Regions from separate parts of the Homo sapiens genome. Here all the other regions are linked to region 4. Evidence: promoter capture Hi-C in 16 types of primary human blood cells and fetal thymus (Javierre and others, 2016). All regions are on one chromosome and are shown on one strand. The core of a region is centred on a gene start or on the middle of the fragment in contact, and the rest is flanking DNA. Distances in the headings are between cores, read along the strand shown. Region 1 has its middle 23 kb from the start of TILRLS. Region 2 has its middle 15 kb from the start of CD180. Region 3 has its middle 4.7 kb from the start of TILRLS. Region 4 holds the start of LINC02219 (long intergenic non-protein coding RNA 2219).

What was found. Contacts are between HindIII fragments. The CHiCAGO score rates a contact against its expected background, and 5 or more counts as called.
Region 1: a contact is called between a fragment that was not itself captured here and the fragment with the promoter of LINC02219 in region 4, in 1 of 17 cell types (erythroblasts). The highest score is 5.8, in erythroblasts.
Region 2: a fragment that was not itself captured here is called in contact with the fragment with the promoter of LINC02219 in region 4 in 1 of 17 cell types (monocytes); the score reaches 7.1 in monocytes.
Region 3: a fragment that was not itself captured here is called in contact with the fragment with the promoter of LINC02219 in region 4 in 2 of 17 cell types (megakaryocytes and naive CD4 T cells); the score reaches 6.6 in megakaryocytes.

What each region holds. Positions count from the first base shown.
Region 1 is chr5:67,289,497-67,292,729 of GRCh38, reverse strand. No RefSeq gene overlaps it. Among named protein-coding and RNA genes, the nearest start is that of TILRLS, 23 kb to the right of the region's middle. The HindIII fragment of the contact is 1,857 bases long and covers 1,008-2,864 here.
Region 2 is chr5:67,210,375-67,213,757 of GRCh38, reverse strand. No RefSeq gene overlaps it. Among named protein-coding and RNA genes, the nearest start is that of CD180, 15 kb to the right of the region's middle. The HindIII fragment of the contact is 2,788 bases long and covers 218-3,005 here.
Region 3 is chr5:67,261,870-67,264,848 of GRCh38, reverse strand. No RefSeq gene overlaps it. Among named protein-coding and RNA genes, the nearest start is that of TILRLS, 4.7 kb to the left of the region's middle. The HindIII fragment of the contact is 1,208 bases long and covers 713-1,920 here.
Region 4 is chr5:68,188,030-68,191,295 of GRCh38, reverse strand. LINC02219 (long intergenic non-protein coding RNA 2219) reads right to left here and starts at 1,420. Exons shown (of 3, transcript NR_105003.1): 1 at 1,305-1,420. RefSeq lists an enhancer at 3,010-3,266. The HindIII fragment of the contact is 11,987 bases long and covers 1-3,266 here.

The DNA of each region.
Region 1 (3,233 bases), core at 687-3,186, 900 kb after region 4:
AGTGCCCTATCAACTTCTCTATCAGTTTACTTCACCCTGTGCCTTAGAATTGGAGTCTCAGGTGTCATTTCACAAAAAGAGTTTTCCCACAAATCAAAGAAAGCGAAGCTGTGAATATTGCTAATGAACAGAGATAGTAGTATCGGTAAAACTCTCTCTCCACCCTCCCCCTACCACTTATACTCTCTCACTTCCATTAGGAAGACCCATGCTCTGTCTGTGACCATCCCTGAGGCATGGCATTACACTGAGAAGGTCACTCTCAGGGCAGAAGACACAGTTCTCAGAATACTCAGTAATTCCCCTGCTGGGTGGGGCAAAATCCTTGGAATGAGAAATCTAAAGGAACAAAAATCATCTTGAAAGTGCTTTTGAAACAGTGAATTTTGTGTATGTCGAACAGAGGACCATTTGATTTCATTTTTATTTTAAAATGCTTGTGGGCAGAATGGTCTGATGTGCCACTTCTGTGGGTGTTTCCAGCAAGTTTAGCCAGTAAGAAATCTGCACCAGGAACTCTCCCCTTCAGAAACAACACATCCCTCCATCTCCACCTCCTTTTGCACGTGCAGAGGTCAATAAGTCAGTAGTAGATGTTCCTTTACCAGACGCAGAGGGGATCCTGGAGGTATTAAAAGATTCGCCTGCTCAAAGATCATTCCCCATGTAGCTTTTCAATTAAAGTCAGTTGTTTAAAGAATAGATGTAGAATGGGCATTAAGATGGCCCCTGATTTACAATGCTTCAACTTAACAATTTTTTGACTTTATGTCAACGCAAAAGAAATACGCGTTCATAGAAATCGTTGAGTGTTGAATTTTCCTCTTTTTTCTGGCTAGCTACATGCAGTACAATGCTCTCTCATGATGCTGGGCAGTGGCAGCGAGCCACAGCTCCCAGTCACAAGAGTAAACACCGATACTCTGCAGTGTACTGGGTTGCTCGATGATTATTGTCCAATCATAAATTTGTGTTCTGAGTGCATTTAAAGTGGACTAGGCTAAGCTTTGATGTTTGATGGGTCAGGTGTATTAAATGCATTTTCAACCTTCAGTGGATCAACCTTTTAATACCTCCGGGATCCCCTCTGTGTCTGGTAAAGGAACATCTACTACTAACTTATCAGGATGCAGTTCCACTGTAAGTCAAGGAGCATCTATCTGGGTGGAAAACTGCAGTGAGGGTGGGGTGAAGGCAGAAAGGGATCAATGAGAAAAGAGCTGAGAGCAGAAATCTGCTTGGGTTTCACAATGGGGCTGTGTGAGACCCTGCGAGGTGGGATGAGCAGACACAACCAGGAGTTGCAGAGATTAAAGGAGCTAAAGATGCCCATTTCCTACTTTTCTATTATTTTTCCCAAGAAAGGTCAGCTGAGTCCAGAAAATGAGAATGAACTAGGAAAGTTCACATTCCTGAAACTTTTCTCACATTACAATGAAACAAAACAGATTTAGGGAAGATACCATCACGGTCACCTCTCATAATAAACCGGATTAACCTTAGAGTCACAGATGTACAAGAGCACATTCAAGGACTGTAAGAGTTAGAGGAGATGTTTAGCGATCTAGTACAAGAGTTCTGAACATTTGGGGAGCCACAGACCACTTTAGAAAATGTGATAAAAGCAATAAGCCTTCTTTTGAGAAAAAATATTTATATCCACAAAGACATAACATATTATAAACTATTCCAGAGGGCTGGCAAGATCTCTGAAGCCCTCCGGGTCATGAATAAAAGACATCTAACCCAGCTACCTTCCATCCACTCCCACCCCATAATGATGTGAGGAAGCAGAGGGCCTGATGGGTAAAATAATACATCATAGTTTCAAACAGAGTTGCAGCAGGGCAGCAGAGTTAGCTCCATTGCCCGATTCTTAAAGCAGAATCCTTTCCACTACTTTGTGAATCATAAAGGAAATATCCACTTTGTTTATATCTCATGCCCAACATGCATAAAAATTAATATCTCCGCTGCCACTCAAGTCTCTAGGAGCCACAAGTCAAAATGTCAGAAACCTAGACAACTAAACAAGAACATCCTTGTTTTTACAAACACAGTGATTTTTTTTTTTATTCTGAATAAAACACATTCTTATGACAGCTACCTAGATACTCTTAAAGTGAGCATCCCACTGATCCCTGTCAGTCTGTTCCCAGACGTGACCATGACCAAGCCTGGTCCCCAACATTTGCCATATGCACAGGTGTACTCGTCTACTGCTGGATGGACATCTTTTTGAAGCAGTTCCATCTTATTCTCATTATTGTTCAGCAGAGAATTCTGTCCCCTTTTCCCTTTCTCTATTCAGAATGTGGGCTGCTGTTCTTTCCAAATCATGGCAAACTTTCCAAGTTGTCATGGGGCCAAACCCTCTCGCTCACCACCTCACATCACTGATTAATGGGTCCTCTTGAAATCTGGGCCTGAAGTGTAAGCTATTGTGTTGCAAAGGGCCCCTTCAGGCAATGAATCAGGGATTTGGGTGGGCTATTGTAGAATTTCGGAGCATGTAATATATCTTTATCACTTGGCTAGGGATGCTAATCAAAAATTACTGCATACCAATATTTTTTGGATCCCTTTCTCCCTTTACAAGAGCAAAGACTTGTCCTTAGAGAGGCAAAGATTCTAGGAAAAAGTAGAACACCAGTTACATAATTTTTTTCAAAAACTAAGTATGTAGAATGCTAATCTTTCCAAGACTGGTCATTATCCAGGGTGCTATGGTCATTGCCTAATGCAAGAGGCTGCATGGAACAAAATGCAAGTCCTTGGGGCACCAGCTGGGCCTGCCCCAGGGAGGACAGGTTCTAGCACCAGGTCAGACTAGTCCAGTCCACCAAGGGTGACCATCCTAAGCTTTTGCTATGACTTCCATGCTTACCCCCATCTCATCCGCCTTCCAACCCACATGCTTTTCACAGTTGGGAATGCTGCACACAGCAGAGTCACCCTTTGGGGACTCCTTAGAAACCATGTGTTAAACTCCAGAGTCTGATTTGACTCCCAGTGGCCAGTTGAATCCAGGAAGCTGCAGGAAATGTGTCCATCCCTTCCACTCCAAGACAGCTTTCAACTCAGAACACTTCGAGGTCACAGCTTTTTCTCGCTTAGGGAAAACCGGCAGACATCCTGCTGCTGGGTAATCACTGGGCTATGGGCAGAGCTGTCCATGACAGGACCTCACTCAGCAGTGAAGGAGAGAGATCTGGTGTCAGTCTTCTGAATGA
Region 2 (3,383 bases), core at 362-2,861, 980 kb after region 4:
AAATATACCACAAAATTAGCCGGGCATGGTGGTGGACGCCTGTAGTCCCAGCTACTCAGGAGGCTGAGGCAGGAGAGTGGCGTGAACCCGGGAGGCAGAGCTTGCAGTGAGCCGAGATAGCGCCTCTGCACTCCAGCCTGGGCAACAGAGCAAGACTACATCTCAAAAAAAAAAAAAATTATATATATTTAATGGTCCCTTTACCAGACTGGAAGCTTCCTCATGGTGGAAAAGGTGCCATCCATCTATTAATATATATAATATATATGTTAAATATTTATTGAGCATCTACTCTGTACTAAGCACTATGCTGAGACCTAAAATATAATGATGAACAAAACATGTATGGTCCTGCCTTCACAATGCCAATAATCTAGTGACTAGAGACAGACACTTAACATCATCACAAATAAAGAGAAAATTACAATGGACATAAATGAACGATTAAAATAAGAATGGGGGCCAGGTGCAGTGGCTCAAGCCTGTAATCCCAGCACTTTGGGAGGCCGAGGCAGGTGGATCACGAGGTCAGGAGTTCAAGACCAGCCTGGCCAAGATGGTGAAACTCTGTCTCTACTAAAAATACAATAATTAGCCGGGTGTGGTGGCGGGCACCTGTAATCCCAGCTACTCGGGAGGGTGAGGCAGAGAATCGCTTGAACCCAGAAGGTGGAGGTTGCAGTGAGCCAAGATCGGGCCACCGCAGTCCAGCCTGGGTGACAGAGCAAGACTCTGTCTCAAAAAAAAAAAAAAAGAAAAGAAAAGAAAAAAAAGAATGGGAAAGATATTATGTTTTGGGTTAGGTTGGTGGCAGAGGAGAGGGAAATTACTGAGGAGAATTAAGATTTATTTATAAGAACCTAGTGATCTTGAAAAAAAAAAGACTTTTTAAAAGAAAATACAGGAGTTATGGCTGGATTAAATGGTGTTGAGGAGAATTTTATGACAAATGTGAGTTCCAAATTTCTGGCTTAAGACATTGGGCGGATAAAATTGCTGTTGTATGAATTGATGTAATAGGCTGAATAATGGTCCTCCGAGGAAATTCATGTCTTAATCCCTGGGACCTGTAAATATTCTCTTATTTGGAAAAAAAAATAGTCTTTGTAGATGTAATTGAGGATCTTGAGATGGGGAGATGATCTTGGATTATCTAGGTGGAACCTAAATGCAGTCGCTTGTATCCTTATAAAAAAGAGGCAGAAGGAGATTAAAACACACACACACACACAGAGGAGAAGGCTATGTAAAGACAGGGCAGAAAGAGAATTGAAGATGCTGGCCTCCAAGATTGGAGTGATGCTACCACAAGCCAAGTGTGACAATTAATTTTATGTGTCAACTTGACTGGGCCATGGAGTGCCCAGACATTTGACCAAACATTATTTTTAATGTGACTGTGAAGGTGTTTCTGGTTGAGATTAACATTTAAATGAACAGACTGAGTAAAGTATATTATCCTCGCCAAAGTGGGCTGGCCTCATTCAATCAATTGAAGATTGGAGTTGAAGAAAAAGGCCAAGTAAGAGGGAATTTCTCTTACGTGACTGCATGAGCTGGAGCATTGGTCTTCTCTAGAGAGACAGTTTGATCCTATTGGTTCTGTTTCTTGGGAGAATCCTGACTAATACAGCAAAGAATGCCAGCAGCTAACAGGAGCAGTAAGAGACAAGGAACACATTCACCCCTAAGGCTCCAGAGGGAGTACAGCCCTGCCAACACCTTGATTTCAACCCAGAGGAATTGATTTTAGATTTCTGGCCTCCAGGACTATGAGAAAATAAATGTGTGCTGGGTTAAGTCAGCTCATTTTTAGTAATTTATTACAGAAGCCATAGGAAATTAATACAATAGGAACTATTATACAAGACGAGTCTAAGTGTGGGGGGGTGGTGTATCAAGATTCCATCTGGGGACAGGCATGGTGGCTCACGCCTGTAATCCCAGCACTTTGGGAGGCCGAGGCAGGTGGATTACCTGAGGTGAGGAGTTCAAGACCTGCCTGGCCAACATGGCAAAACCTCATCTCTACCTAAAAATACAAAAATTAGCTGGGTGTGGTGGTGTGCACCTGTAATCCCTGCTACTCATGAGGCTAAGGCAGGAGAATCGCTTGAACCCAGGAGGTGGAGGTTGCAGTAAGCCAAGATCGTGCCACCACACTCCAGCCTGGGTGACAGAGTGAGACTCTGTCTCAAAAAAATAATAATAAATTAAAATAAATTTTTTAGGCCGGACGTGGTGGCTCACGCCTGTAAACCCAGCACTTTGGGAAGCCAAGGCGGGTGGATCACAAGGTCAGGGATAGAGACCATCCTGGCCAACATGGTGAAACCCCGTCTCTACTAAAAGTACAAAAAAAATTAGCCAGGCGTGGTAGCGGGTGCCTGTAGTCCCAGCTACTCGGGAGGCTGAGGCAGAAGAATGGCGTGAACCCGGGAGGCGGAGCTTGCAGTGAGCCGAGATCGCGCCACTGCACTCCAGCCTGGGCGACAAAGCGAGACTCCGTCTCAAAAAATAAATTAATTAATTAATTAACTTTTTAAAGTTCCATTTGGAACATGAAATCTGAGATGTCTAGCACACGCCTCTGGAAAGGAAGGCCGAATAGGGATTTGGATATGCAGGTATGAGACTGACAGAATGGTCTGAGCACAGGCTTGAAGTTCCAAAGTCCCAGGGACTGAAAAGCTGTGGGAAGTGAAGTAAGAAAGAAAGACAGCCAAGCACGTGTCCTGAGGAACTCTCAACATTGGGAGATCAGGTGGAAAGGTAGCCTGAGAAAGAAACTAGGAGAACATGGGGTCTTGGAGGCCAAGGGAGGTGAGTCGTTTTGAATGACAGGGTGATCATCCCTGGAACAGAATCCAATCTGGAGTACATTTTATGAAAACGATGAGGAGGAAGCAGAAACAGCCTGTGTGGGTGACTTATTCTTGAAGTTTGGCTTGGAAAGTGCATAAAGAAAGCAGATAGTTGCTATGAATATTGGATCCAGGAAAGCTTTTTTTAATTCTTATTTTCATATGGCAGAGTTTAGGGCAATTCCATATGATTTGGAAAATGACCCAAAAACAGAAATGGTTGGAAATGCAGGTGAGAGTGGGGCTACCTGCTGAAGCCTGAGAAGGCAGAAACAGAGGATTCAGAGAGCAGGTCTCAATCCTGGCTGTAGTTTAGGATCCCCTGGGGACATTTTTTAAAAATCCCCACACCCAGCCTAAACCCAAGACAAATAACATCAGACTTTTTTTTTTTTCTTGGAGACAGAGTCTTGCTCTGTCGCCCAGGCTGGAGTTCAGTGGTATGATCTCGGCTCACTGCAAGCTCCGCCTCCCAGGTTCACGCCATTCTCCTGCCTCAGCCTCCCGAGTAGCTGGGAC
Region 3 (2,979 bases), core at 67-2,566, 930 kb after region 4:
AGACAAACATGTAAGAAATCTCAGAATCACAACATCCATTGTCATATAACCAGGCATCAAACTGTCATGAAGGCTTATCAGGAGACACAGTCCATGTGAGCTATCTGATTGTCCTCACAGTAAGAATTGTCCTCACATTTGGGGGCCAGTGCCTAAGTCATTACTGGTAAAGGAACTATGAGCATTTCAGTTGATCCATGAGAACTCATGCCCCTCCCTTAGGATGGACCTTGCTAAGCTTGGCTGTTTGATATTTCTCTTACACCTTAGGAAGCCTCAGAGCATTAACCCAACCCTGCTGGGGACTGACTTGACAAAAGCACTCTACAGACTGGGTTTTCCTCATCCTTCTGGGACATCGTACTGGTTTCAAATGCCAAAGAGCCACATTTGAATTCATATTCCAGAGCTCAGCATGTCTATATTTGATCCTTCGGTTATTTTTGTACAGTCCATTCCCTTGTTTCTGTAGGAATCCTAACTACCTTAGAGTATTGACTGGATACTCCTTCACATGGCGTTCTGCAGAGCAAGTAGAAAAGAAAGGATTCCTGCTCAGCTTCCCAGCATGAACAGACATCCCTAATGTAGACAAACACACAAAAAATACACTGCAGCTGAAGTTCAGATGAGTCTTGAAAGGCATCCAGCTGCTCTCTTAAACCCAGCTGGTATGTGTCCTGGTTCAATAATGGAAAAGACTGGCAAAGCTTGGAGAATCAGTGCTAAAGTCCTAAAGGCTGTCATGTCTGAGCATGCATGGCCTCCCTGGGAGGCAGGAGGCTGGAGGGAAAAAGACTGAGTAACAGGATATTAGGGAAGATACAGGGGTCCTAGCTAAGAAGGACCCTACTTAGTAGTTGACTTCTTCCTGGCGTCTGGTTTCAAGGAGACTGCTGCAAATTAACAGTGACAGGAAAGCCACAAGGCTTACAGGGGGAAAAACTGGAGTATCTGAAGAAGTCACAGATGGTGACACCTGAACTCCCAGCAGGTCATTGCAACAGGAAATCCCATGCCCATCCTCTCACCATTCCTTCCATCTACCATTCTGCCTCCCTCTCATCTCCTGTGTGTCAATCACCTGGCCACCCATGAAGAGACTGGAAAAGAAGCTCCCCTGCATTCTCCTAACTCAAGCCCTCCTCATCCTCTGTACGTCCATCCAGCTCCGCAGAGCCTAACAACTCTTTCTCATTTCCATTTTTGTCATCTGTCGATTCATCACAGTATTCCTTTGGCCTCCTACTTACCACCAGATGTGAAGCTGGTGGGTATGGGTTTATAGACACTATTACTACCAGACCCTCTTCCCTTCATTGTCTGGAAGCCTGTCTCCATTTAAGCTATAATCCCTTTTGCCATTTTTGACCTAGTTCCCATTATTTTCTATTTTTCCATATTAACTCAAATAAGCCACTTCTCAGCCTGTATATATTTCACTGGCTCCAGTTCTTCTCTTGCAACTAAAATGAATGCCTGTTGGAAAAAAAAAAAAAAATCTACAGGCCATTCCCAGACTCACCCACTTTCTTAGCTTAAAGGACTAGAGGGGAAGCTCCTTTAAAAATTCTGGTGGCATTCCTTGGCTAGACAAAGAGGTTCTATAACTCATGATCACCCTGCTCCCTGCAACCTTCAGATGGGAGAATGCATTTATGCACATGAAAAATATGAAAAAAGTGTGGATAAAGCATTCCTCAATAACAGTCAAGTCTATCTATTACTGCATGAAAAACTGATAATAGGAGATTAATGTGTTTCACAGATAAGGTGAAGAAAGAAGAAATTGAGCAAGAGAAGAAAAGCAGAGTAAGGAGCCAAGAGTTTAATGGCAAAAGGACATTCATCTGAGGCATAATTAATCCTCCCTTCTTACCTTCAGCCCCAGAGAACTAGAAGTATAACTAAACAAAAGCTTAAGAGGCACCACTTTGGAAAATATTATTTCTTGAAACATGAATGGCGTGACCATGGGTCTGAACAAAGACACCTTTGGGGATAAATAACCCACAGACTGGTTCCTGCCCCTTTCAGGGCATATTTCAGAAGGAATCACATGCACTGTGTTTGTATCACAAACCCTTTGAAGCAAATCAAATTTTTAAATTCTCTCGCTGTTGCTTTAATATGCTATATCTTGCTTATCCATCATGTAGGAAAACATTAAAACTACTTAAAAGTGTTTACAGATGCTATTCCTAGCCTATTTTTCTCCAAAATCAACTAGTTTCCCAGCTGATCAACTGAAACTGTAGAGGATGTGGCACTCTCAGGAATTATACCCTGAAACAGTAATTTCAGGGTAGTTTTATCATCCTCCCAAAGTGATCATTGCATTGCCCTGGCTGTTGGCAACCTGCATGGTGACACTCTTTGACACAGGCGAGAAATAAGAAATATAGTCACGAGTCACTTCATGACAGGGATATGTTCTGAGAAATGCATTGTTACGCAATTTTGTTGTTGTGCAAACATCGTGGAGTATACTTATGCAAACCTAGATGGTATATAGCCTACTACACACCTAGGCTATATGGTACAGCCTATTGCTCCTAGACTGAAAACCCGCACAGCATGTTACTGTACTAAATAGTGTAAGGAAATAGTAACACAATGGTAAGTATTTGTGTGATATAAATTTTTCAGCTCCTTTATAATCTTATGTATAAGCATATGATACACCTATGTATAAGCATTTTGTCATTGATCAAAATGTCATTATGTTGTGTACAACTGCATATACGTTTTATAGTTGAAAGCTTCAGGTTATGTTAGTTAACTCTCCTGGTGTCAAGATATACACAGGTCCACCTGAATCCAGAGCCCACACTTTCAAATAGGTTGATAATAGAAATTTTTTTAATTAGCCACATTAAAAAGGAGAACAAAAACAACTATAGCTGACCCTTGAACAACATGGTTTGAACTGCATGGGCCCACTTACAAGTGGATTGTCTTTCCCCTCTGCCACTCCAG
Region 4 (3,266 bases), core at 171-2,670:
TTTGCACAAAGTCTCCCTCCCATAGTACAAGGGGAGCTGCTTAGGGGGCAGGAGGCAGGGAGAGGTCCATTCCCCATGGTAGGGCTTGGGGGATGTAGTTGCCCCCTCCCTCTCCCTGTCTCTTGTTGTTCAAAAAAATGATCTTAAACTACAAAAAAAAAAAAAAAAAAAAAAAAAAAAGAAAGAAGGAAAGAAAGAAAGAAAGGAAGAAAGAAAGAAAAAGAAGTCAAAGTCACTGTGTAGGTTGGGAAGGCTGCAAACTGGTTAAGAAAAATCAGTGTGGGAATTAAAAATACTAAATTAGCTTTGCAAATATGATACTTTTCAAAATTAAGTAAACCTGCTTTTTTTAAAAAAGGTTAATCTTTAACATTTGCATTCATCATGGCCACATGTGCTCGCGCTGCTGCCTGCCTTTTGCCATCTTAATTGCAATATTCACATATAAGTAGGGTAAGTGAATGTGTGTGGGTGGAGGGTTGGGGGATGGGCTCAAGCAAATAAACATAAAACTCACTCAAGGTCCTTTTGGGCTTGACATTAATGAATGGAACAAGTGGGGAGATACTATTTTCATGACTGCACTAACTACGTGTGGTATGTAAAGTCCATATGAAAAAAAGACAAATAGGCCAGGCATGATGGCTCACGCCTGTAATACCAGCAGTTTGGGAGGCTGAGGCAGGTGGATCACCTGAGGTCAGCAGTTTGAGACCAGTTTGGCCAACATGGTGCCATCTCTACTAATAATACAAAAATTAGCTGGGACTGGTGGCAGGCACCTGTAATCCCAGCTACTCGGGAGGCTGAGGCAAGAGAATCACTTGAACCCAGGAGGAGGAGGTTGCAGTGAGCCGAGCTGGTGCCATTGCACTCCAGCCTGGGCAACAAGAGCGAAATTCCGTCTCAAAAAAAAAAAAAGAAAAGAAAAAAAAAAAGTCAAATTAGGTGTTATCTAGACAACAAACAAATTCATAGTTCAGTTTCTTTACATGGTGAGTCCTTTTTTTTTTGAAATATGCTTAAAATATCAAAGTTTGCCATATACCAAACTTTTTAAGGAATATCTCTTATTACAAAAACAAGGGCAAGTTTGTATCCAATAACATTGGTTCCCAAGCCTAGGAAAAACAGACATTTTAAAATACACTTGCCTTTTTTTAAAAAAATTAATCAAACTGTTAAAATTTCTCCCATTATGACTCCTTTTCCCCTATGTTTGTAAGGTCTTATTCTTCTCTACTTCGCTCCAAGTTCCCTTCCTCTCTGAGATCTTGGGATGTTCTTGTGAATCCTGGTCTTACCTTGGCTGGGCCCTCACTCACTTCACTCACTTCTCTGCATGCAATTCCAAAGCTATGCTGAAACTACTTGCTTATATCCTGTCTTCCCCATTAGACTGTGAACTCCAAGGGACCAAGGCCTGTGACTTATTTATTCATCTCTACGTTTCCATGTCCATTGTACAGCCCTGTGTGCAACAGGTGATCAAACAATGCCGAGTGTCCTGTCATTGGACCCTTCTGCTGTCACATCGTTAGCTGTGCATTTCTAATATGCAATATGTCTCTTCGCTTTAATCCTTGTGATTTTCCACTGGATTCTTTTGAGTTTTGATTCTGAGGTTCTTTTTTTTTTTTTTTTTTTTTTTATGAGACAAAATCTCGCTCTGTCACCCAGGCTGGAGTACACTGGCTCACTGCAACCTCCGCCTCCTGGCAATTCTCATGCCTCAGCCACCTGAGTAGCTGGGATTACAGGCACGCACCATCATGCCTGGTTAATTTTTGTATTTTTAGTGGAGAGGGGGTTTGGCCATTTTGGCCAGGCTGGTCTCAAACCCCTGGCCTCAAGTGATCCCCACCCCACCCCCTCTGCACCGCCTCCGCCTCCCAAAGTGCTGAGATTATGGGCGTGAGCCATCACATCCGGCCTGATTCTGAGGTTCTTAATTAAGAAACAGAAATCACGTCAGCTGATGTGAGGCTTACGGAAATTGGTGTGTTTGTGTGTGTGTGCATGTGTGTATGTGTGTTTATGTGTGGGTGTGGGTGGGTGGGCTGAGCATTGTCTCCCTTTCTCTTGCTTTGCTCCTAACTTCCACACCCCACCCTCACACTCTATTTTCATTCCTTCTGATTTCTCTTTTTGGAGCACATCTGAAGGTGAGAAAACTTCATTGTATTACTATATTTGTACTTGCCAAATACTATGCTGAATCCAGCTGCAATTCTTAAATGATTCTGAAGAAAGTGGTATATATCTAGTGCAAAATACATTTCCTTGTAATCTCTAACTATAAGCATCCTCTTCTAGTTTCTAAGTATGGCATGGTGTAAATAAAACTGTCTGAACTTTTTCTAGCATAAAGAAACATAGCCTAGAAATATTCCAAAGTCAGTACAAATCACCCTTTTAAGAATATCTAATGGCATGGGGAATGGTTACCAGAAGGAAAAAAAAAAAAAGCATGGTATAAAGCTAAGTAGGATTGAATTCCATTTAGGTATGTTCATTTTTTTCTCTTTCTTTCTGTGTGTGCACGTGTGTATGTAAAGATTGAAAGGTAATACATAAGAATATAAGCAAGTGCTAATTGAAATCATGGGACTTATAATTACTTTCTTCATTATACTTCTTTTCTGCATCTTCTCAATTTACCAAATTATGATGTACTTTTTAAAACAGAAAAACACACACACACACAAAACCCCTGAAAAATTCAAAAATGAAATAGAGTGCGACATTTAAAAGGAAATCTGTTTTATGTATTGTAGCCTGGGAAAAAGGGAGAGCAAAGGGACTTTTTTAAGTGTAATTTTTAAAATGAAACATTGTTTTGAAATTTGCAAGAGTAGAATAGTGTATTGAGCTTCCATTGGCTTAACCAATTAACCACACTGCCATCATCGTTTCGTTTATTTCCCCCTCCCCATTTTTCCTTCCAAGCAGTTTTGGGTTTTTTTGTTTGTTTGTTTTTAAGGATGCCAGTTATGCCTTAATTCGGTCGGATATATTTTATGTAACTCGGCTTTTTTTGTTTGTTTGTTTTCTTTCAGGATACTTTAGAGAGCCTCAAAGCTAACGTGAGACAGCATCTTGGTTCTGCAAGGACGTGTCCTTCAACCCAACGCCCCCCACCCCCACCCAACCCCAAGCAAATATCCTGTTGAAGTCTCCGTGAACAAACATCTATCAACAGAAAAGCGATATGGTATTTACTCAACTTTTCTTGTGTCCCTTGGGTCGGAGAACAGACTTCAGTG